Linked DNA regions of Homo sapiens: all the other regions are linked to region 2. The links are contacts of gene promoters, found by promoter capture Hi-C in human tissues and cell types (Jung and others, 2019). All regions are on one chromosome and are shown on one strand. The core of a region is centred on a gene start or on the middle of the fragment in contact, and the rest is flanking DNA. Distances in the headings are between cores, read along the strand shown.

What was found. The method cuts DNA at HindIII sites, captures the fragments that hold promoters and counts their contacts. A contact is called where the count stands out against the background at its distance.
Region 1: a fragment that was not itself captured here is called in contact with the fragment with the promoter of RGS7 in region 2 in 2 of the 25 tissues and cell types used here (aorta and dorsolateral prefrontal cortex).
Region 3: a fragment that was not itself captured here is called in contact with the fragment with the promoter of RGS7 in region 2 in 1 of the 25 tissues and cell types used here (ovary).
Region 4: a fragment that was not itself captured here is called in contact with the fragment with the promoter of RGS7 in region 2 in 6 of the 25 tissues and cell types used here (dorsolateral prefrontal cortex, mesendoderm cells, neural progenitor cells and 3 more).
Region 5: a fragment that was not itself captured here is called in contact with the fragment with the promoter of RGS7 in region 2 in 1 of the 25 tissues and cell types used here (dorsolateral prefrontal cortex).

Annotation. Positions count from the first base shown.
Region 1 is chr1:241,299,389-241,303,807 of GRCh38, forward strand. All of the region lies in intron 2 of RGS7 (regulator of G protein signaling 7), which reads right to left. Among named protein-coding and RNA genes, the nearest start is that of RGS7, 56 kb to the right of the region's middle. The HindIII fragment of the contact is 6,377 bases long and covers 1-4,419 here.
Region 2 is chr1:241,354,814-241,358,876 of GRCh38, forward strand. It overlaps RGS7 (regulator of G protein signaling 7), which reads right to left and starts at 2,392. Exons shown (of 19, transcript NM_001364886.1): 1 at 2,086-2,392; 2 at 886-1,013. The coding sequence starts at 963. LOC124904601 (a long non-coding RNA gene) reads left to right here and starts at 2,439. Exons shown (of 2, transcript XR_007067052.1): 1 at 2,439-2,669; 2 at 3,010-4,063. RefSeq lists a silencer at 2,244-2,293. The HindIII fragment of the contact is 13,432 bases long and covers 1-4,063 here.
Region 3 is chr1:241,319,339-241,323,585 of GRCh38, forward strand. All of the region lies in intron 2 of RGS7 (regulator of G protein signaling 7), which reads right to left. Among named protein-coding and RNA genes, the nearest start is that of RGS7, 36 kb to the right of the region's middle. The HindIII fragment of the contact is 8,539 bases long and covers 1-4,247 here.
Region 4 is chr1:241,388,983-241,393,180 of GRCh38, forward strand. No RefSeq gene overlaps it. Among named protein-coding and RNA genes, the nearest start is that of RGS7, 34 kb to the left of the region's middle. The HindIII fragment of the contact is 5,447 bases long and covers 1-4,198 here.
Region 5 is chr1:241,407,340-241,411,701 of GRCh38, forward strand. No RefSeq gene overlaps it. Among named protein-coding and RNA genes, the nearest start is that of RGS7, 52 kb to the left of the region's middle. The HindIII fragment of the contact is 6,683 bases long and covers 1-4,362 here.

The DNA.
Region 1 (4,419 bases), core at 826-3,325, 56 kb before region 2:
AGAATAAATGTAGAGAACTTAGAAGTAAAAAAATGTTTTGAAGGTGAGATAGGAAAAAGCCAACTATCTTGAACAATTCAAAAGACTTTCTTAGCAAATCTCATTTCTGAGAGCTTTGTATAGAAATTTCATCATCAGCTTTGGCTGCTATGGCAACTAGATATTTCAGAAATGATTTGAAATGAGTATCACTACATATCCAGCATCTTTTGCAAGAAACAGAAAAGACTATGAAATCTAATCCACTGTAAATTTCAAAATATAGTGTTAATTTTCATTTTTGAAATCTATTTATGCTTCTATTTGCAAATCAATAGATAACAACCTGGTACGATTACATATGAGCACGATGGAGAAGTCTTTCATTTTAGTCCTTAACTGTCACATTAAAGCATCATTTAGGTACTCTCGTCCCAGTTTTATTAGGCCTTTAAAAAAAAAAAAAGGCTGGGCACAGTTGCTCATGTCTGTAATCCTTTGGGAGGTCATGGTGGGAAGACTGCTTGAGTCCAGGAGCCTAGGTAACACACAGATACCTCGTTTCTCCAAAAAAAAAAAAAAAAAAAAAAAGTAAAAATTAGCCAGGAGTGATGGTACACACTTGTAATACCAGCCACTCGGGAGGCTGGGGTGGGAAGATCGCCTGAACCCAGGTTTTCAAAGTTGCAGTGAGCCGTGATCACGCCACTGCACTCCAACCTGGGTGATAGAGCAAGACCATGTCTCAAAAAAAAAAAGACAATTTTTTGGGCAGTTTTAGGTTCACAGCAAAATTAAGTGGAAAGTACAGTTTCCATATAATCCTTGTCCCCTCCCCAACCTACCCCACTATCAACACCCTGCATCTAAGTGGTACATTTATTACAATCAACAAACCTACATCGCTACATCATAATCACCCGAAGTTCATAGTTTACGCTAGGGTTCACTCTTGGTGTTATATATTCTATGGGTTTGGACAAATTTATAATGACATATATCCACCATTAGGGTATCAAATATCAAAAATCAAATCCTGTGTTCCATCTATTTATCCCTCCCACTCTTCTTAAGCCTTAGCAACCACTAATCTTTTCACCATCTCCATAGTTTTGCCTTTTCCAGAATGTCAAATAGTTGGAATCACATAGTATGTAGACTTTTCAGATAGACTTCTTTCACTTAGCATGCATTTAAGGTTCTTCCACGTCTTTCCATAGCTTGACAGCTCATTTCATTTTAGCATTGAATAATATTCCATTGTCTGGAGGTACCACAGTTTATCTATTCACCCACTAAAAGACATTTTGGTTACTTCCAAGTTTTAGCAATTATGAACAAAGCTGCTATAAACACTTGTGCACAGGTTTTTGTGTGGACATGTTTCCAGCTCATGTGGGTTATACCAAGGATTGTAATGTCTTGACTGTACAGTAAGAGTATGTTTACTTTTGTAAGAAACTGCCAAGTTTTCTTCCAAAGTGGCTGTACCATTTTGCATTTCCACCAACAATGAATGAGAGTTACTGTTACTCTACATTCTTGCCAACATTCAGCGTTGTCAGTGTTTTGGAGTTTGGCCATTCTAATAGGTGTTAATGGTATTTCATTGTTAGTTTAATTTGTAATTCCCTAGTGAGATATATGTCAAGCACCTTTTCATATTCTTATTTGCCAGGCCTTTCCTTTTAGCCATATCTATGCCAAAGCCCAAGTCCCACTGAATCTTGCACAACAGAATAAAAACAAGGTCTTCAATGATGAGTTAGTTGTGATTTGATTTAATCAATGAACCAGCCATGGTTTTCACATTCTACCCTGCAGAGCTACTATTCCTGGGTCACTGAAATAGCTCATAGCAAATACATGCTAGAGCAAAGAAAGCTGTGTGGAAATGTAAAGTAATGCAATGACTGGATAATTTAATCAGCATTTACACCCATGCACCTTAACTACATATATGTAAAAGCATCAAACGAGTTCTCAAATTCCCTGCTTAGGTCATGACACTGAGGGGTTCAAATAGAATCATCAGTGTTTGCTTGAAAGTCCACAAAGTAAGGAGATTTATTCTTGATTGAAGTTTTCACAGCATGTTACCCTGAATATTTAGGGATGATGGTTAAGGGTTATGGAGGTCAAGATGAACTGGTAGAGAGAGCAGCATGTTAAGTTGTGTAAGTGTTTGCTGAAGGACAATGGGGAAATGGAGTGAGAGACATTCTGCAAGTGTGCCACAATTCAAAAGAACCAGCATCCTCATTAAAAATTGTGAATTTATTAAAATAATGGCAAAGTTATTTTGGAAGTAAACTGATCTAACTATAATTCTTTTTCCTCTTGAAACTTATCAATTTTAAGATACTTACAATAGTGTAATCTCTTAAAAGTTTTCTACCTCTGCACTTAAGTGTAGAAACAAGCTTATGCTGACCTTTTGAATAGAATCTAAAGCAATGTGCATTACCTTTATCAATTCTAAAAGGCATTTCCAACAGCTCAGTCTTCCAAAAATATACTTTAAATGTAGTAGTTAGTGCAAATGATATATCAGAAGTATCGAGTAAAGAAGAAAAATACTATGACATTCATAGATGTCAAATATGTTAGAAAATCATCAGCACTGTGGATCAGGAGTTCTGGGCCAGAGCTGTGGGCAGAATGGGACATTAAATGGGGCCCTTATTAGGAAGTTGACATCTGAGCAAAGACTTGAAGAAAGTGAGGAAGTAATATTCATGGTTTATCTGGGGGAAAGTATTCTGAGCAGAGACAGCAGCCAGCGTAGAGGCCCTGAGGTGAGAGCAGGCCTAGCACATTGCAGGAACAGCAGGAGGGTGAGTGGAACAAAGTGAAGGGGGAGGATCAGCTGCAGGCATCTTAAAACTTTGGCTTCGGCCGGCCGGGCGCGGTGGCTTACGCCTGTAATCCCAGCACTTTGGGAGGCCGAGGTGGGTGGATCATGAGGTCAGGAGATCGAGACCATCCTGGGTAACACAGTGAAACCCCGTTTCTACTAAAAATACAAAAAATTAGCCAGGCATGGTTGCAGGCGCCTGTAGTCCCAGCTACTTGGGAGGCTGAGGCAGGAGAATGGCCTGAACCCGGGAGGCGGAGCTTGCAGTGAGCCAAGATCACGCCACTGCACTCCAGCCTGGGCAACAGAGCGAGACTCTGTCTCAAAACAAACAAACAAACAAACAAAAAACTTTGGCTTCTACTCAGATAGGGAGCACCTTGGGAATTTTCAGTAAAACAAATTACTTTGAAAAATTTTTCTTATCATACAAAATTTTAAACATGAGCAAAGTAGAGAAAAATGATAGTATACTCTAGTGTACGTATGATTCAGTCTCAAAATTACTGATTCATGGTCATTACTGTTTCATTTACACTCTCTACCCTACCCTCACCCCAAATCATTTTGAAGAAATCTTCTGACGTCATGTCTTTTCAACCATAAGTATTTCAGTAGGGATCTCTAAAAGACAGGCATTCTTTTCTTTCTTTCTTTCTTTCTTTTTTAACACCACTGTAATACTATTATCACGTCCGGTAGCGGTTAAATCAGCTCATACCTGCTCAGCCAAAGAGAAACTGTGTATGCCACTCTTCCCACTCACGGACCCATGACTTCATGAACGTGGCTTGAAATTAACCATGAAGGGAGTGTATACACCATGAAAATCCACAAATACTAACAGCAGGGCTTTTATTTCTAGTAATAAAATTGTTAATTCTTTACTATCTGATATGGTTTGGATTTGCGTCCCTGCCCAAAGTTCATGTCAAATTGTAATCCCCAGTGTTGTAAAAGGAGCCTGGTGGGAGGTGATTGGTCCATGGGGGTGGATTTCCCCCTTGCTGTTCTTGTGATAATGAGTGAGTCCCCATGAAATCTGGTAGTTTAAAAATGTGCAGCACCTCCCACTGCTCTCTCTTCCTCCTTCTCCAGCCATGTAAGATGTGCCTGCTCCTCCTTCCCCTTCGGCCATGATTGTAAGTTTCCTGAGGCCTCCCTAGCCATACTTCCTGTATAGTCTGCAGAACTGTGAGTCAATTAAACCTCTTTTTCTAGGTGAATTACCCAGTCTCAAGTAGTTCTTTACAGCACTGCAAGAATGGACTAATGCACCATCACACCTCTGACTCACACGTAGAAGATTAACAATGCTTACTTAATACCATTAGATGTCTACTCTACACAATGGTCATATTTCTTTGGTAAACCTTTTTTTCAGTTTGTATGTCTGAATAGTGATCAAAATAAAATCTATACTCTGTGACTGTTTGATATCCCTTAAATCTCTTTGAATCCATAGGATCCCCAACATCTCTCTTTTTTCTGGCATTTGTTTTTATTGTTGTTAAGGGAACTGGGTTGTTTGCCCTGTGGAGTTCTTCACAGTCTGCAATTGCTAATTGTATGCCTATGGTTTC
Region 2 (4,063 bases), core at 1,142-3,641:
GCCCAATAAGCACTCCAGATAATATACTCAAAAAATCATCTATAAAATGCAATAAAAATGATTGGGGCAGAAGAACACTGCATCCTTAATTTTAGTAAGATTGTTGATGATAACCAGAGTGAAGCTGCCTAAGCAATCACTCAAAAGCACATGTAATAGTTAAACGCATCTTTATTATGGTTGCTCAGTGTCTAAAAGTTTGTTGCCAGTAGCATTGCTATTAAATGTATAAGGCTGTCAAATCTATTTGTGGCCAAAAAAAAGCAACTCTGCAAGATAAATATTATTTAATGATTTAATAGGCATACGGCACTAGAATATAAATACCCATAAATACCCCAAGTCATAAAAGTAACAGAAAGTAAAAAATAATTTAGGCTAAGACAAAAAAAGACTAGAATTGTTTAGTCAAGAACGAAATTAGTAAACCACATACATTTACACAGACACAGTCTCTCTTGCCACAAAATTGCAAAGTGGTCTACTTTTATTTCTAAAATGTGATATGCTTATATCATTATTATAACCTAAATGTTTAAAGGGGGTATAAGAAAAAGCTTCTAAAATTATTACGGATGCTACTAAATCATGTGTATAACAACCAAAATATCTGGAATGCCCAAACGTGCTGTCATTGCTCAGGACAGAATAATCTATTCAAAACCAGCAGGGAACACGTGAGGAGGCCTCATTTACTTCAGTGTGTTTCCCCACATATGCATCATTTGAGAATGTCAGATCACTTTCACGTATATAGTACATAATCACTGATGATCTGGGAAATCCACAAGGCCACAAAGTTGATACATACTCTGATCTAGAGGGGGAAAAAAATCGAGAAAGCCGGAAGTTTCCCGTTTTCCAAGAAACTGAAGACATTCTTACCTTTCTGTACACCAGCATGTTGGGTGATTCATCGGCCACCCCGTTGCTGGTCTGCCCATAATTATTCCCCTGGGCCATGTCACCCAAAACTTGGTCCACTCTCAAGATACAAGAATTATCAGTGTGCCCTGCAAAGGGTCAGAGAGACTTCAGTGAGATCCCAGTGGGACTCCCCTGATTCATCATCATCATTCACAGCACCCACCCCACATGGCGCGTTCTTACAAACTGGGGCTGGCTGGAGAAAGTGACACAGGACATGGATTTTTTAAAAAGTGAGTTGACACCTACAATAACCTCAAGGAATTGTAAGAAATTACAATCTTCCAGGTAGAAATAGCCATTTGGTTATTGTTTTAGCTGACTTCATTTTCTGGATACTCATTTTGAGAAGTGTTTGATGCTCACCCTAAAAACTCGTGGGTAGCATTTTCCTAGTACAGAGTTCTCTTCTCTCCCAATACTTGCATCTGAACTTGGTGATGTTTTCCCCAAAGGGTGGAAAGGCAACACCTGGGGGATGCGGTGGGGGAGTGGGGGGCGGGTTAGCACACTTTCTCCTAGGTATCTGTCTAGTGTCCCCACCTGCAGCCCATCAGAGAGGCCCATTCCCGGTGTCATTCTCCAGCGCACGGGCTTCCTCTCTATTCCCCCGGGTCTCCCACACAGAGCCGGAGTATATGCTTCGCCTACTTTCACCTGCCTGCGCTGCCAGCCACCGGCTGCTCTCCTTTCTCCCCACTTCGCTTCGGAAGTCCGGAGGTAATCCTGCCTAATTTTTGCAAGAAGACACCAGAATATGTCCCGGCAACAAGAACTAGTGGGAGGTCAAGCCTTCAGGCCATTTTACCCGGGTCACCGTGGGTAAAAGCCTAACTGCAGAAGCCTCCAGAGCAACCAGCCAAAGAGGAGAAAACAGGCAAGCCCCTGCTCCCCTTGCTCGCTCTCACGGCAGCAGCAAATGGCAGGCGAGCCTGTGCCCCGCGCCGCGGCGGCCGCCGGAGCCGGGCAGCAGTTTCAGCACCGTGGACCGCGGGGTGCGCGCGGCGCCCGTAGCCCAGCCCCGGCGCGGGGCTCCCGGGGGCGGCCGCCCTGCGCCCGCGGACGCTCCCGCTGCGCAGAGCGAGGGCTGGGTGCGGGCCGGGGGCCGGGAGGGCTCTGGGTGGCGCTGCCTCCTCCCCGCCCGCCTTCCCTATTTACCTCCTCCGCCAAGGTCACGGCCCCGCGGCGTCTCCCCTCCCGGGCGGGCTGGGTGCAGGCGGTGTCAGCTGGCGGCAAGCGGAGCAGCGAGGCAGGGTAGCTTCATCACACTCGCGGCGGATGCGGATTCCGCGCCGCCCCGGCTCTAGCTGCTCAGGCGACCGCCACCCTCGCCTCGCCGCCGCCCGTGCACAGGCGGCTCCGGCAGCCGCCACTCGCGCCCGCTCCCCTGGGCCGCCTCGCTGGCTCTCTCCCTCCTCCGCTTCTTCTCCCGGGGACTGGGACCAGCCGAGCGCGCGCGGGAGTCGAGACGCCCGGCCCGTGCGCGCGACTGGGAGGAGGGAGGAGGGGACAGTCACGTGGGACAGGGGCGTCCGAAGGTGCCGGCTCGGATGGGCTCGGCTCGGCCGCCGCCACACCGCCCGGGCCTCCCGGGCCTCCCCGGCCTCCCGCCCTCGCGCCCCTCGGGAGGCTGTAGTCCTGCCCCCGGCGCGGCCAGCCCGCGCTCCCGCACACCCCGCCCGCTCGCCCGCGCGTGTGTACGTGCGCCGGAGGCCTGGAGAGACCGGAGTTTAACGCCCAGTGTAAGCCGGAAAGGGAGGAAGGCTGTGCGATGGGTGGGTGGGTGGTAGGTGGGTGGGTGGTCTAGTGAATGGATGGACAGATGGACGGACGGATGCACGGATGAATGGATGGATGGAGCCCCGTGCAAACCAAGGTTTCATCACGTGCCTAACGACTCCGCTGAAAGTCCCAGGGAAGCAGATGATTTATTATTATTATTATTATTATTATTATTATTATTATTATTATTATTATTATGCTTAAATAACAGAGTAGAGAGATATTGAGACACCCTAGGAATGAAGGAAATGGCCAGGACCAAATGAATCATTCATCCCCGTTTGCCTGCGGTTTTCACAGCTTCTTCCTAAGTTGGAGAAATGGGAAACGATTTGAAAGCTGCCAACCGGAGGTGAAAATCTTGCCACTTGTGAAACTGAAGGAACATCCCCAAGGCCTGGCTTCTCCTTTTAACAGAAGGTGCTCAGAGGAACTTTCCTCTTGCCCACTGCCCTCATCCTCTAGCAATTTTCAAAGAGCTTCTGAGGTGCTGATCCTCCTAGCTATAGTCTTCGTACTGCTGCCACAAATTCTTCTGTAAGGATTAGAATGACATAAAGGAGACAGATCACTTTTGTCTCGGTGGTAGTAAAGCAACCTGTGCCTCTGGCTTTCAGGGGGAAGGGCTGGGCCGCTGTAAATCTAGTTTTCCTTCCTCTCCTGGGCCAGCTGTGGAGGAGAGGGAGGGAGAGAAGGAGAAGATAATCAAGATCAGCTGTAAATCTAGTTTTCCTTCCTCTACTGGGCCAGGTGTGGAGGAGAGGGAGGGACAGAAGGAGAAGATAATCAAGGTCAGCCTTTCCTGACCCCTTGGTCTAAGCAGACTAGACCTTATTGGAGATAACACTTCTACTCAAACAGGGGTCCATGTGGACCAATGTATTACCCCAGCCCCATGCAGGTCTTGTCAGGTTTCTCTCAAGGAACAAATATTTATCTAACCTAGCCCCTGTTCCAAGTACTACAGGAGAAATATCATTGTCCCAAACTACACACACTCTAGTCTGACCTGTCTCCCACTCCAACTCCCCACATCTTTCCACTGTAGCCTCTGGAACTTAGAATCTTCTTCAGCAAAATTCTCTTCGTTTTCGACTTCTCGAAATATTTCTTTAACGTTTTTGCTCTCGCTGAAATCTACTTATCCCTCCTTTAACCCCTCTCTCTTCCCTCTTGTTCAGTCTGCTCCTGAGAAGTTGATGTGACTTGCATGACTTGGATTAATAAATTTGCAAATACAACTGGGTATGCTCACTCAGTTTGACCATTTTCCTCTTAAGAGAGAACCGCCTGAAGGAAGCAGTCTTCCTCCTCCTTTGCATCTCTGGGTAAAGTTTCCATCCTCATAGGAAGC
Region 3 (4,247 bases), core at 140-2,639, 36 kb before region 2:
AAAATACAAGAATATAGATTTTACTGTTAATGGTGCCTATTAAATGTTGGTATAAAAATACCCTAAGAAAATGCAACAAAATATTAATGGTGGTAGTGCCTTTAACTGGAGGGATTAAAGGTGATGTTTCCAAGTTTACATAATGATTGTGAAATACTCCTGGGATAGAGAAATAAAATTTTATTAAAAATATTATTATGTTTAGAGTCAGGGTCTTACTTTGTCACCCAGGCTGGAGTTCAGTGGCACCATCATAGTTCACCGTAACGTCAAATTCCTGGCCTTAAGTGATCCTCCTGCCTCAGCGTCCCAAAATGCTGGGATTACAGGCATGAACCACCATGCCTGACCCAAAAGTTTATTTTTAAAAACATAAATTTTAAAAAGATAACATAATCATATCTCACTTCACTCATTAAACATATTCTAGAAAATGTTTTATAATTTAATTTTTGTTTTTAAAAAGTTCGAAGGCCGGGCGCAGTGGCTCTCGCCTGTAATCCCAGCACTTTGGGAGGCTGAGGCGGGCAGATCACGAGGTCAGGAGTTCGAGACCAGCCTGACCAACATGATGAAACCCCGTCTCTACTAAAAATGCAAAAATTAGCTGGGCCTGGTGGTGTGCGCCTTTAATCCCAGCTACTCAGGAGGCTGAGGCAGGAGAATCACTTGAACCCGGGAGGCGGAGGTTGCAGTGAGCTGAGATTGTGCCACTGCACTCCAGCCTGGGCAACAGAGCGAGACTCCACGTAAAGAAAAGAAAAAAAGTTTGAAAATGTCCCAAAGAAGCTAACTACTCTCCCTGTGTTTTCCCAGCCATGCTGAATTACTTGTAGTTCCCTGAAGCATCATGCTAATTCCAACTCTGTGCCCTAATAGGTGCTGTTGCTGATATATTAGGCCCCTTGCTCTATGTTCCTCATGTAACTATGAGTTTTCCTTCAAAACCTTCCCCAGGAACACTTTCTGAGTTCTCCACTACAATATAAATGCTCATCCTTCGGAGAGATCCCTCAATGAATTTATCAACAGTAAGCACTATCACACTATAATAACTGTGGAAAGTGATTTAACAAAGCACAGTGCCTTCTGAATAAAGAAATGAATGAATGGATAAGCAACTTTGACACTCCCATAACTTAAACAAATGGTTGACCTTTTTGTTTTCTCTCACTTAAGTGACTGGCTGTTTGACTCGAGTAGTAAAAACAAACTAGGTGTCTTGACACCCTAAAAAGGGTGAATGTTATCTACATAAATTCAATCTATACATTTAATTAAATAGTATCATTCAATAAGCATTAACTGATGGCATTGTAAGTGCCAGGTTTGGTGTTAGGCACTAGAACATGGAAAGGAGGAACAGTGCTTCTTTCCTCAACAAACTGAGACTAACAGGAATAGTCAGGCAAATCCACAGTTGCAGTAGTGTTATTAAGTGCAGTGTTGAAGCATGCACTTTCTGTAGCAGGAACAAAAAGGGGTGCTGTGGGGTGTGGGGACAAGCCTTCTTGGTTCCAACACTGTGTTAAACTAAAATGTAGTTGTATTTACAATACAAAGCTTAATAAAGGCTGCACTGGACAATTGCCTAATATCATCAATGTAAATACCCAATGTTATGTGATTAGAATGGGCATAAAAAATAACAAAATCTGCTGTTATTAACAATGATTCCCACTGGAATATTGGAAGACACACTGACTATCACTCACTACAGAAAGTATAGAATTGGAAAAGATAATTTTATGAAGATTTATAAACTTTTAAAACTGGTGTGAAAGTATTATTTCCCAAATTCAGTTTGTAGCTGGGGTGGGGCGAGTAGGTAGTATAAATTTCTTCTTAAATTGTATCATGACAGAGAAGTGTTCTTTAGGATTCCATTGTTGTGGACTAACAAAGTCACTTTTAGATATCTCAAATTTGAACTTTATTGCTCTTCCTATCTTCCAAAGAAATGCACTGAAAAATAAAATGGTCTCTCTACAGAAGAACCAAAAAGCACAAGCAGTTTTTTTTATCCTCACAGCTTTCTGTTTTCAAGCAATTTGGAGTCCCCAGGCGGATTCAAACTCGATCCCCCTTCCACCTCACTCGGGCTCTATGCACTCCCACAGATAACGAGATTGGGTGAGCACATCAGATTCACTTTCCAAAGGCACACTGAAAAATCTTCATGCAGATTAAAAGATTTTTTTAACTATTTCAGCTTCCACATCTTCCAAACTTCTCTTTCTCAAACCATAGAACACTATCATTTGTGCAGAACAACATGAAGATGGGAGGTTATGGTTCCTTCAATTATGTCTGAGAATTAAGACATATGTTATATATTTACTATGAACCTTAAAGAATAAACTGCACCTAGATCTAATAACCATAATTCTAAATAACCTTCTATAATCTATTATATACATAGTAGCCAGATAGACTTCTAAAAACATAGCTCAATCAGCGCTCAAAAATGTGGCACTGATTGACAGTGTATAATTCTCACTCATTAGTTGTGGAATAAAGTCCAAACCGCCGTTCTAGAATTCAAGCTCCTCACAAACTGGCTCCAATCTGCCTTCATTGTTGATTAACCACATGTCCCTTGCAAAATCTACGCTCCATCCCCAAGAGACTCTGTGTTGTTCTCTGAGCATTCAGAGAACTCTTCCACCTCCATGTCTGCCCTCTCACGGTTTTTCCCACTTGACTAACCTTCCTCCCATTTCACCTATTCAAACCTAACTCATCAGAAGCCCTCCTCTCTGAAGCCTGTCTAGATTATCCCACCTGAGAGCAATGTCTCTGTCCTCTACGTTCTCACTCTGCTGGCATACATGTCTCTTGCCACCTCTACCACATCTTGCTCACCTTTGTAAGTAAACCTCACCTTGCTCACCTTTATAAGTAACTGTTGTTAGCACATACTAGGTGTACAACACCACACCTATAAGTGAGTGGCTGAATCTTTTTACAAAATGATTCAGAAGGCATCTCAGGATTATTTCATTTCTCCACATAATCACACATATCGACTACCATTATTTGATAGATTCAGAGGTTGCAAGATATTGGTTGACTATATATTCACTCTTTAACTGATACTAAAAGTTGTTTTAGCCAGTTAATCTCTAATAGCAGCTTATCTGCCACTTATTTGATTCTCATATAAAGAAAGAGTATTAAAAATCTGATGTTTGAATATCCTACTTACATAAATTCAAGAAAAGCAGGGGTTTAGCATATCTGCCACCCTGAATTCAATTATCTACTGCATGTGTTGTCTCTCATGTGTAACCTGGGCCTTGATGCTAAGCCACCCCTCAGAGATTCTTTAAGTTCCAATGTCAGAAAATTTGAGGGTCCTATGGCATAGAATGATAAGTACCAACATGGTTACTACTGAAGATGTTAGTTTGGAAATACTTTTAGATCATGGAGTGCTTAAGTGCTATACAGTCATATCACCAATAGCCTTACCTTTTCCACAAGATTTTTTTTAACAAAATGTAAAATACAGGTACTGTAATTCATGAATTCTCACATAAAGGACAAATAAAAATAGGATCATGAATATTGCTCAGACTTTGAATTTTTATACTGTAATCTAAGAATACTCTGAAGGACACAAATCAAATTGGTAGGGCCAGGAAATAAAATAATTTCTAAATTCTACTAACAGTAAAAAACACAAATATAAATCTTATTAAGGCAGAAAATAAAAAACAAGAGATTTTCACCATTTAGTTTCATCGTTTAAATATCATATTTATTATCATACACTGCAAACTCCCCAAACTGCTTTGATATTTTCCCTTAAAAATAAGAGAGAAAACATGAAGGCATCTGATTTTGTGATAATAGAAAATTTCTTGATAATATGTTTTTGTGGCTATAAGTGCCAATGAATATATCAAGTTCTAAATAATATGCAATGTTTTAAATACCAATGAATGTTGTGACAATTTTTTTCATTTAAATTGTGATGTATGTTTGCAAGATACAGTCTACTTCCTTTAAGCTAGAGAGGCGCCTGTCAGCGCCTGTGGAGGCCTAAGAGGAGGAGGCTTACAACTGCAGTCTTCTCCTTCCTCCCTGACCCCGTTGTAGGAATAAGAAGTAAATCTTCAGTCAGAATCAGCCCATGCACACACAAGCCAGTGGCAAACCTCTGCCCAAGTATTAAAGGATAAACTGGGCAATCAGATTTGAATCTCAAAACTCTGGACTAGGAAATCAGAAGAATGAACTAC
Region 4 (4,198 bases), core at 1,306-3,805, 34 kb after region 2:
AGGTCAGGAGATCAAAACCAGCCTGGCTAACACAGTGAAACCCTGTCTCTACTAAAAATACAAAAAATTAGCCGGGCTTGGTGGCGGGCACCTGTAATCCCAGCTACTCCGGAGGCTGAGACAGGAGAATGGCGTGAACCCGGGAGGCGGAGCTTGCAGTGAGCTGAGATCGCGCCACGGCACTCCAGCCTGGGAGACAGAGATTTGGAGTCAGACCTCATTAAGTTTGGATCTAGCTCCTTTACTTTTTGTCTGGGTGAACTTGAGCAAGTTAATTAACCTTTCTTGGCTTCAACTTCCTGTTGTCTTTAGGATTCCGCCATGGGCATCTTGAAAGGCTCTCCAAAGGGAAGGAACATGATCCATGACTAGATCCAGTTTTGAAATGACCGAGGAGCAAAGAATTTTAGGGGTAAAAATCTACTTTATATTGTTTCAACTTGCTGTTTCCATGATGAGAAGATGTTAGTCCCAGCCTTGTCTTTTGAAAGTTTAAAGGAAACCAATCACACAGGCATTGTCTCTGCTGTAAAAAGTGCTGCACTTTTTCAGCCTTTTTCAGGTGATTAATGTGATCCTCCACTTCTGAGAGACACGTTCTCTCTAGGGCCTAGACATTACTGACACAGGCCATTGGGGAAAAAATGACTAATTCAGGCAAATATAAATGCTCGCATTAACCTCTGATGCTGTCATTTGTGCTCCAAGTGCCTGGCTCAGGAGGTGAACAAACGGCAAGAACAAATGAAGGGTACTTTCAAAATTGAAGTCACTTTATACTGCATTTTATTTAAGATTTTTGTGGCAGAAAAGCCATTTTAAAAAGGCATATGTAGGAGCTGGGTAACTGCCTGGTCTTAATGAATGTGACAAACAGAATAGCTGTCACCAAGATTGTATTAGGGAATGGCATGATTTAGGATCAAAGGTGAAGGGCTCCTCGAGGTCATGTAGACTGAAAGCTTCATTTTATAGAAAAAAATTGGCCCTGAGAACCAGAAAGCCAATGGTTCCCAGTTTAGCCATTTCTATTTACCTTATTATTCATTTCCGAAGTCTGCCATAACAAATGACTGCAAATATGGTGGTTTAAGCCCACAGAAACTTATTCTTGCACAGTTCTGGAACATAGAAGTCTGAAATCCAAGGCTAAGCAGGGCCATACGTTTTCTGGTCTTTAGGGAAGAACTCTGTTTTCAGCTTCTGGTGGTCCCAGGCCTCTCTTAGCTTGTGGCTGCATCACTCCAGCCTCTGCCTTTATCGTCACATGACCTTCCCTCCTGTCTATTTCTCTGTGTCCTCCACGAATCTTTTAAGAGCACCAGTCACTGGATTTGGGGCTCACCCTACATCCTGGATGACTTCATCTTAAATCATATCTGCAAATACCCTATTTCCAATTAGATCACACTCTAAGGTTTCAGATGGACATAAATTTGGGTGTACACTATTCAATCCACTACAAACCCCATGGCTCCTCCTTAACACAAAGGGGTCATTCCTGGATCTAAGGGAGCAGGTATGGATTCTGCACCTCTCCCAATGCCTTAGACCATAATTTATGCATAGATGTTGAGAGTCATACTGCCTGGATTCAAAGTACATTGACCCTTAATAAATAAATCATTTCAAAGCTTCAGTTTTCTCAGTTACAAAATGGAGAAAATACAGCCCTCCATGTGGGAGCCTCATCAGGTTGCAGCGAGAACAAGGTGGCATAATCCACATGGACCACTTAGCCCAGCATGTGACCCATGACTAGGGCTCAATAAATATTAGCTGCTACCAATCAAAGCCAGCACTGATGCTTTGGAAGGGTTTGCATATCATACAAAATAAAATTCAATCATCCTCCAGGCTACGTGGGAAGCACTGTATGGCAGCTAGCTAATTATTCCCACCCACCCATCATGGGAAAAGCCCTGACCTCCATACCAACAATTTCAATGGGGCTTCCTTTGTCGGCTTCTACCTGAGCTGTCTGGCGATTCGCAATTTTTCAGATCTGAGCCAGATTCACATTTGGAGATTAAGCTCCAGTATCTAGACTAAGCAGAGATGCATAGTAATGGACAGAGATGTCCAAGATAAATAACTCTAGAACCTGAGCTCAAAAAGCTGGTAGCTTTCAGGAAACTCTCAAAGTCTCTGAACTGACTGGCTGGGTCTTGCCTGAAAGACTAGCAGAAAAGGGAGCTGGGACTGGGACCAGGAAGACAGAGGAAGCCAAGGGTGGACCCTGACAGTGGCAGCTTGAAGTCCAATTGCAACATCTTAAGGAAAAGCACAAGGCTGTGGGAAGGAGAGGTAAGGTAAGGAGTTATCTATTGAATCATGCGGTGGGGGGCATACCTGCTCTAGTGGACACTGTGGGGCACTGCCCAGATCCACCTTCACAACTGAAGCACTCATTCTCCAAGCCCTTGGGGAATCAGCTCTCAGGGAATCTGCTTAAGCTAAGGAGAGCCACCCAGCCCAAGGTCACACGGCCTCCCTGGAAGCAGCTCACATCCAATGTCTGGTCCATGGTGGAAAAGCATAAAGGCTTGGCCATAGGCAGGATTATCCTGAGGACTCATCTAATCTCCAGAGCTCTTACAGCGTCAGAGGAGGTTTCCACTGTCACTGCATAACAAGTCTTAATTTTCCCCTCCCCTTGAAGGTGTCAATATTGAGAACAGCTCAATAAAACTCTTACATGCAAATTGCCATCTCATCATGTTTCTCAGAAAACCCATCCCAGACACCTACATTCACAAAATCCCTGAAAGACGCTGTTCTATCAATCTCATTTTCCTGATGAGAAAATTGAGCCTCAGAGATCAAGCAATGTCCCCAAAGACATACAGCTGGTAAGTGGCAAATTCTGATTTTAAACTCAAGTATGTGCAGCCCCAAAGCCCATGGTCTTTCCACTTTAATCTCTGCCTTCATTGAGTCAGTCACTAAGAATAAAGCAGAAATTAAACATTCTCAGGATGAGAAAATAGGAAGGCAACCACTGTGTTATATGGATGACATTCCCTTTGTGCTCCCCCTGGCTTGCTTAAAGCCCTGTGATTATAGTTGTGGTTATTTTTCTTGTTATCTCATTCAGCGCTGGTTACTAAATGTTTGTTTTCTTTTATTAGCCCACTGTATGCTTAGGACCAGGCTCCAGTTTCCTAGTTGTGTTTGCCTAGCTCCTTATAAGCTTGAGCCATCTGTTCCTCTCGAAGTGGACAGGATGACATTTTTTTCCCCAGAGTTTACCTACTTTGTATTTTATAAGGGAAGCCAAACTAGGTGATTCATTGTCCTTCTCCTCCTCTTCTTCTTCCTCCTCCTCCTCCTCATCAATAGGAAAACACTGAGAAGCAGCCTTAAGGAACAACACAGTGGTGATATCAAGGGACTTGAAATTATGTCACGTGCTATCGGCAACCAATATATGATGTTTGGATTGAGAACTATGATCAAAGTGAAGCAGTGGAACTTTGCAGTTAATCAAACAGGAATTTTGAACCAAAAACCCACAAATGTGTTTCAACACACTTGAGCTACGTAATCTTGGGTGAGTTACTAAACTGCTATGTGCAATTTTCTCACCTGTCAAATGGAGCTAATAATAGACTTACTATTTTGTGTGTGAGGATTTGCTGATCTATATATAAAGGTTTTAGCACAGTGTTATAAATATAGCAAATACATACTTAAAGTTATCTGTTAATGCATGGAAATTAGAGGTGAACGAAGTTGGGCTCTTTATTTACGAAATATTGTATGTTGTTTAGAGCAATTCAACCTGGGATAAGCTGAGTTCCAGAGGCAGACAGGTGTAAGAGAGCTTCTGACATGAACATTGCAGGCAGGCAAGATAATCACTAGCATCCATTCCTTCCAAATATTAACATTATATTCCCTCAAAGGTTGTGACATAGTTGGATTTCTTGAGACCTCTTCTCAGAGAGACAAGAACTTTGTTGTTTAAATGATCCATCAAGATCAGCTTAAAACAGCACCTGTAGTTTTGTGGTATCCCAAACTCTGAATCTGAACAGATCATTTATCAGGAAAGTCTAGAAAGATGTTTCATTTTGAAGTTTAAGGATAAATTATTGAATTGGCCTCTGATATGGGTGACTGGTTGCTCAATTCAATAGGACTGGCTGTGTAAACATATAACAGGCTTTCAGAATGTTTGTCCAGGGTGGGATAA
Region 5 (4,362 bases), core at 1,367-3,866, 53 kb after region 2:
GCCAAATTGGACCAATAATATTCAGACCAAGAACATTCCTTCACTCACTTCGTAAAAGAGAAGTCTTTCTTTCCACGGCTGTTAAGCATGTAAGAATGTAGATTTTGGGAGCCATGCCACTTCCATGCAAAGCTTGAGACTAAAACCAACATAATAGAGACCAGATAAGAGATAGAAAAGATCACATTCAGAGATGGCTCTATTTATGTGCCTGAATCAAATTGTACAGATGAATCTTACCCTTAGCTTTCCAGTTATGAAAGTGAATAAATTATTTTGGTTTAAGCTAGTTTGAGTGAGATTATTCTGTCACTCATACTAAAGAGTCCCACTGATAGACAAGTTATAGACATTCTATGAGGTTTAGCTAGAAAGAGACAAGGAGTATTTTAGTTTACTATCGTTTAAATTTAACGTAAATCAGCTGAGCCACTTATAGACTGATCGGTCAATTGAAATATGATATATGATGTTTTGAGGTTTCATTTTACTTTCCCCAAGTAAGATAGACCAAAATTTAATGTATAATGATTTAGTTAAATGATGGTAAATGCTTTCATTTCAATAACTGTGAAGAAATTATGAAAAGTGAACATTTTTAATAATTGGAAAGGCCCAGGCCATTCCAAATCTATGATTAACTCATCAGCTACACCAGAGATTGAAAATGCGTATGTCTACAAATGCCAGGAAGATATCATAAAAGAACAGAGTACGTCTGGTATCAAATAATAATAAGTGGGTAAGATCTAGGACAAACTGGAGATGAGATAGCCTATTAGAATCATCTGGAAATAAAAGCCCAACATAGCCCAATATTTTAAATGTTTTCAAGAGAAGACAAGTCCATATTTTAGGCAAAATTCTCTCGATTTTTAAATGTTGGTAATGAGAAAGTGAAAAGTGGCTCTGCTGACAACCAGATAACAATGTTCCCAAAAGATCACAAATAATGCTCAAAACAACACAAAGATAAGTTCACTCCATAGTTACGTTTAGAGAAAGACAGATAAGGCCACCCTGTGACACAAACATGACTCAATATCCCCCTCTTCTGACTAACATCACCAGTGTGAGTGGATACTGCTTCTATAACAATACCTCTAAACCCACTTTAATACTCTCGCCTCTTAGATAAAACTCATTCAGATACCCTATCTCTGCATTGACCTACCTTCTTAGTATAAGTAAAGGAAGATACAATGTATCTTGGAAAGTATAGAAGGGTTTGTCCTAAAAACTTTTTTTTTTTTTTTTTTTTTTTGACTGAGTCTCGCTCTGTCGCCCAGGCTGGAGTGTAGTGGCGCGATCTCGGCTCACTGCAAGCTCCGCCTCCCGGGTTCACGCCATTCTCCTGCCTCAGCCTCTTGAGTAGCTGGGACTACAGGCACCCGCCACCTCGCCCGGCTAATTTTTTGTATTTTTAGTAGAGACGGGGTTTCACCGTGTTAGCCAGGATGGTCTCCATCTCCTGATCTCGTAATCCACCCGCCTCGGCCTCCCAAAGTGCTGGAATTACAGGCGTGAGCCACCGCGCCCGGCCAAAAACGTTTTGTAAAGATAGAAGTTTGGGCTGATTAACAAGAAATAATAGATAAAGTGAGTAGAAAAATTAAGAATCAGTACATATATGATCCCAGACTTGCTATGGGAAGGAGGTGGTCTGATTCACCTCCTACCTTCTTAGCGGTCTGAAATCTAATACTAGTCTCCGTGTCCTAATCCCTCCTCAAATCATCTAACATAAGCCCCAACGCTAAAAGACCCCTTTAACAACTCCCTCCTGAAATGCTCCTGGGGTTTCCCCAAAGTGAGACCACTCTTTCTGAAACAATATAAGTAAAACTATTTTTTTTTTTCACTACAGATGTGTTCCTGGTAGTCTCTGATCCACTGGTTTGACAACAAGTAATTTAAAAAAATTTTTGAAAACACTGACCTCTGAGCTAGATCTAGGCTATAAACATCTACCTTTTAATCTCACTTAAGGTGTGATGGTTAATTTTATGTATCAACTTGACTGGGCCATGAGGTGGCCAGATATTTAGTTGAACTTTATTCTGGGTGTGTCTGTGAGGCTGTTTCTGCATGCAGTGAACGTTTACAGTGGACCGAGTAAAGCAGACAGCCCTCCCTTACGTGAATGGGCCTCATCCAGTTAGTTGAAGGTTTGAATAGAACGAGAAAGTTGAGTATGGGGGAACTCCTTCTGACTAACTGCCTTCAAGCTGGGACATTGATTTCCTCCTGTTTTTTGGACTTGAATTAAAACATTGGCTCTTCCTGGGTTTTGAGACTTGGATTTCAGACGGAACTATGTCATTGGCTCTCTTCGCCCTCCAGCTTAATTGTGTGAGCCAATTTTCTACAATAAATCTCAATCTCTCTCTCTCTCTCTCTCTCTATATATATATATGTATCTAAAATTTAAAATATTTTAATTAATATGTTCATCAAATTTAAAAATATTCATATGTATTTATATATTTATGACATATATGACATCTATATGTCTACATTATCTCTCTCTATATATATATATATGTCTCCCTATATGTCTATATCCTATCGGTTCTGTTTCTCTAGAGAACTGTGGCTAATACAGAAGCAAAAGGGTGATGTAATATCAATGGGCAGATTTTCCCATTTTCTTACATCATTTTGTGTTTTCTTTCCAGTAGATTAAAGAGGGGTGGAAAATTACAAAATCCAGTGCATGCCACTTAAATTAAAGTTGCGACCATTTTTATTCGTGCCAGGAGGAAGGACTTTATTCTCCTTGATTTGAGCAAATCCATTATCGGAGCTTTCAATTTCAGGCATTCCAAATTTAGGTCCACTTGAGGCTGGGATGACTGCTATGTCTGAGAGGGCTTCTTTCTCTGCAGCTTCTTAAAATGCAAGAACAGAAATCAGGAAACATTAGAGAGACCAACAAAATGATTCAGATATTTATGTAGGTAACTAAGATGCTGTTGCTTTTCTTGACTAGAATTTCATTATAGCTTCATTAGGCAAAGAGACTCTATTCCTAATAGTGCATCTGATCAACAGAAATGCAACTAGCAAATCAAAAAATGTATGAAAGACAAATAAATGGCTTCCCAGGCTGAGAAGAGCCAAACAGGTTTAACTGTGGGTGATTTTGGAGGCCTGGATAGTGGCTTCCCTGAATCCCTAAGCCTAACTTTTCTCTAATTTACCAGAAGTGAGAAACAAATGCATACCCAGACGGCTCCTCTCAACAGCAGGCACCCAAGCCTAAACCCAGATGGTTCATCACTATGAATGACTGTTCTCGTGCTTGTTCAGTAAAAAGACAGAACACGAGGCCCGTGATATGATCAGCTGCACATCAACTCAGACATGCTTCTACACAGGATACCAGGAAGGTGAGGGAGTTGTACTTCTGCTTCTTCCATCTACGGTTGCCAACCTGCACTAAGGGATGTTTGCTAGAATGAAGCTGAGCTAAAGTAGAGTGTGTCTTGCTGGAGACAGGTCCTAGTCTGCCCTGAGGGTCTTTTAGCTAAGAGAGCATTGCTGCCCCCTCCTTTGCCTTATCTATCCTTTTGACCATTGTTCCTGCCTCTGAATTGCCATTTTGACCCCAGACACGGTCACATTCTTCTGCCTCCTCAACTTGTCTAGGCACCATACCCTCTACCTTCTAAACCTCACATTTGCCTCCTGGACTACCACACTGCCATCTCCACCAATTCAGTTACTGCTTCCCAAAATAAGAATATTTGACCTTCTTCTCTTTTCCACGACCTCTGATTTTACTTGGCAACCAAGCCACGGTTTGTTAGAATTTGGTCACGAACAAGTATTTACACAAAAATTCAACTTCAGGGAACTAAACATGTTTTAGATGGCAAGGAATCTAGAAGTTGCGAGTCAGTCCAGAGCTGATGAAACTGCTCAAGGAAGTCATCTGGAACCAGATTCTTTCTAGCTTGCTTCTCCTCCATCATCCTTAGCTTGTGGTTTCTGTTTTAATGATCTCCAGGATGACTACTCTGCACCCAAGCAAATTTTAATTCCAGAACAGAAAAAAAAAGAAGGAAAAGAAGAGAGAAAGGATGAAGGACAGGTAAATGAAGCAAATGCTACCTGGCTACCTGGCTGCACCTACTAATAATGCACTTACCCTGCTCCTTTTCAACCATTATTTAATATTTAATCAGGAGCAATACTAACCCCTATTCAGAAAGGAGAACAATGGAAGTCACATAGGAGAGACAGTGCCAAAGTCAACACCAAACACCGCCAGGCAGGAAAACTCAGGACTCCTGTGTTCTGTCAGAGGTGCTGTCCTCGGTTACCCATTCTGGCATCCTCCCGTCCTGCTTCTGGGGA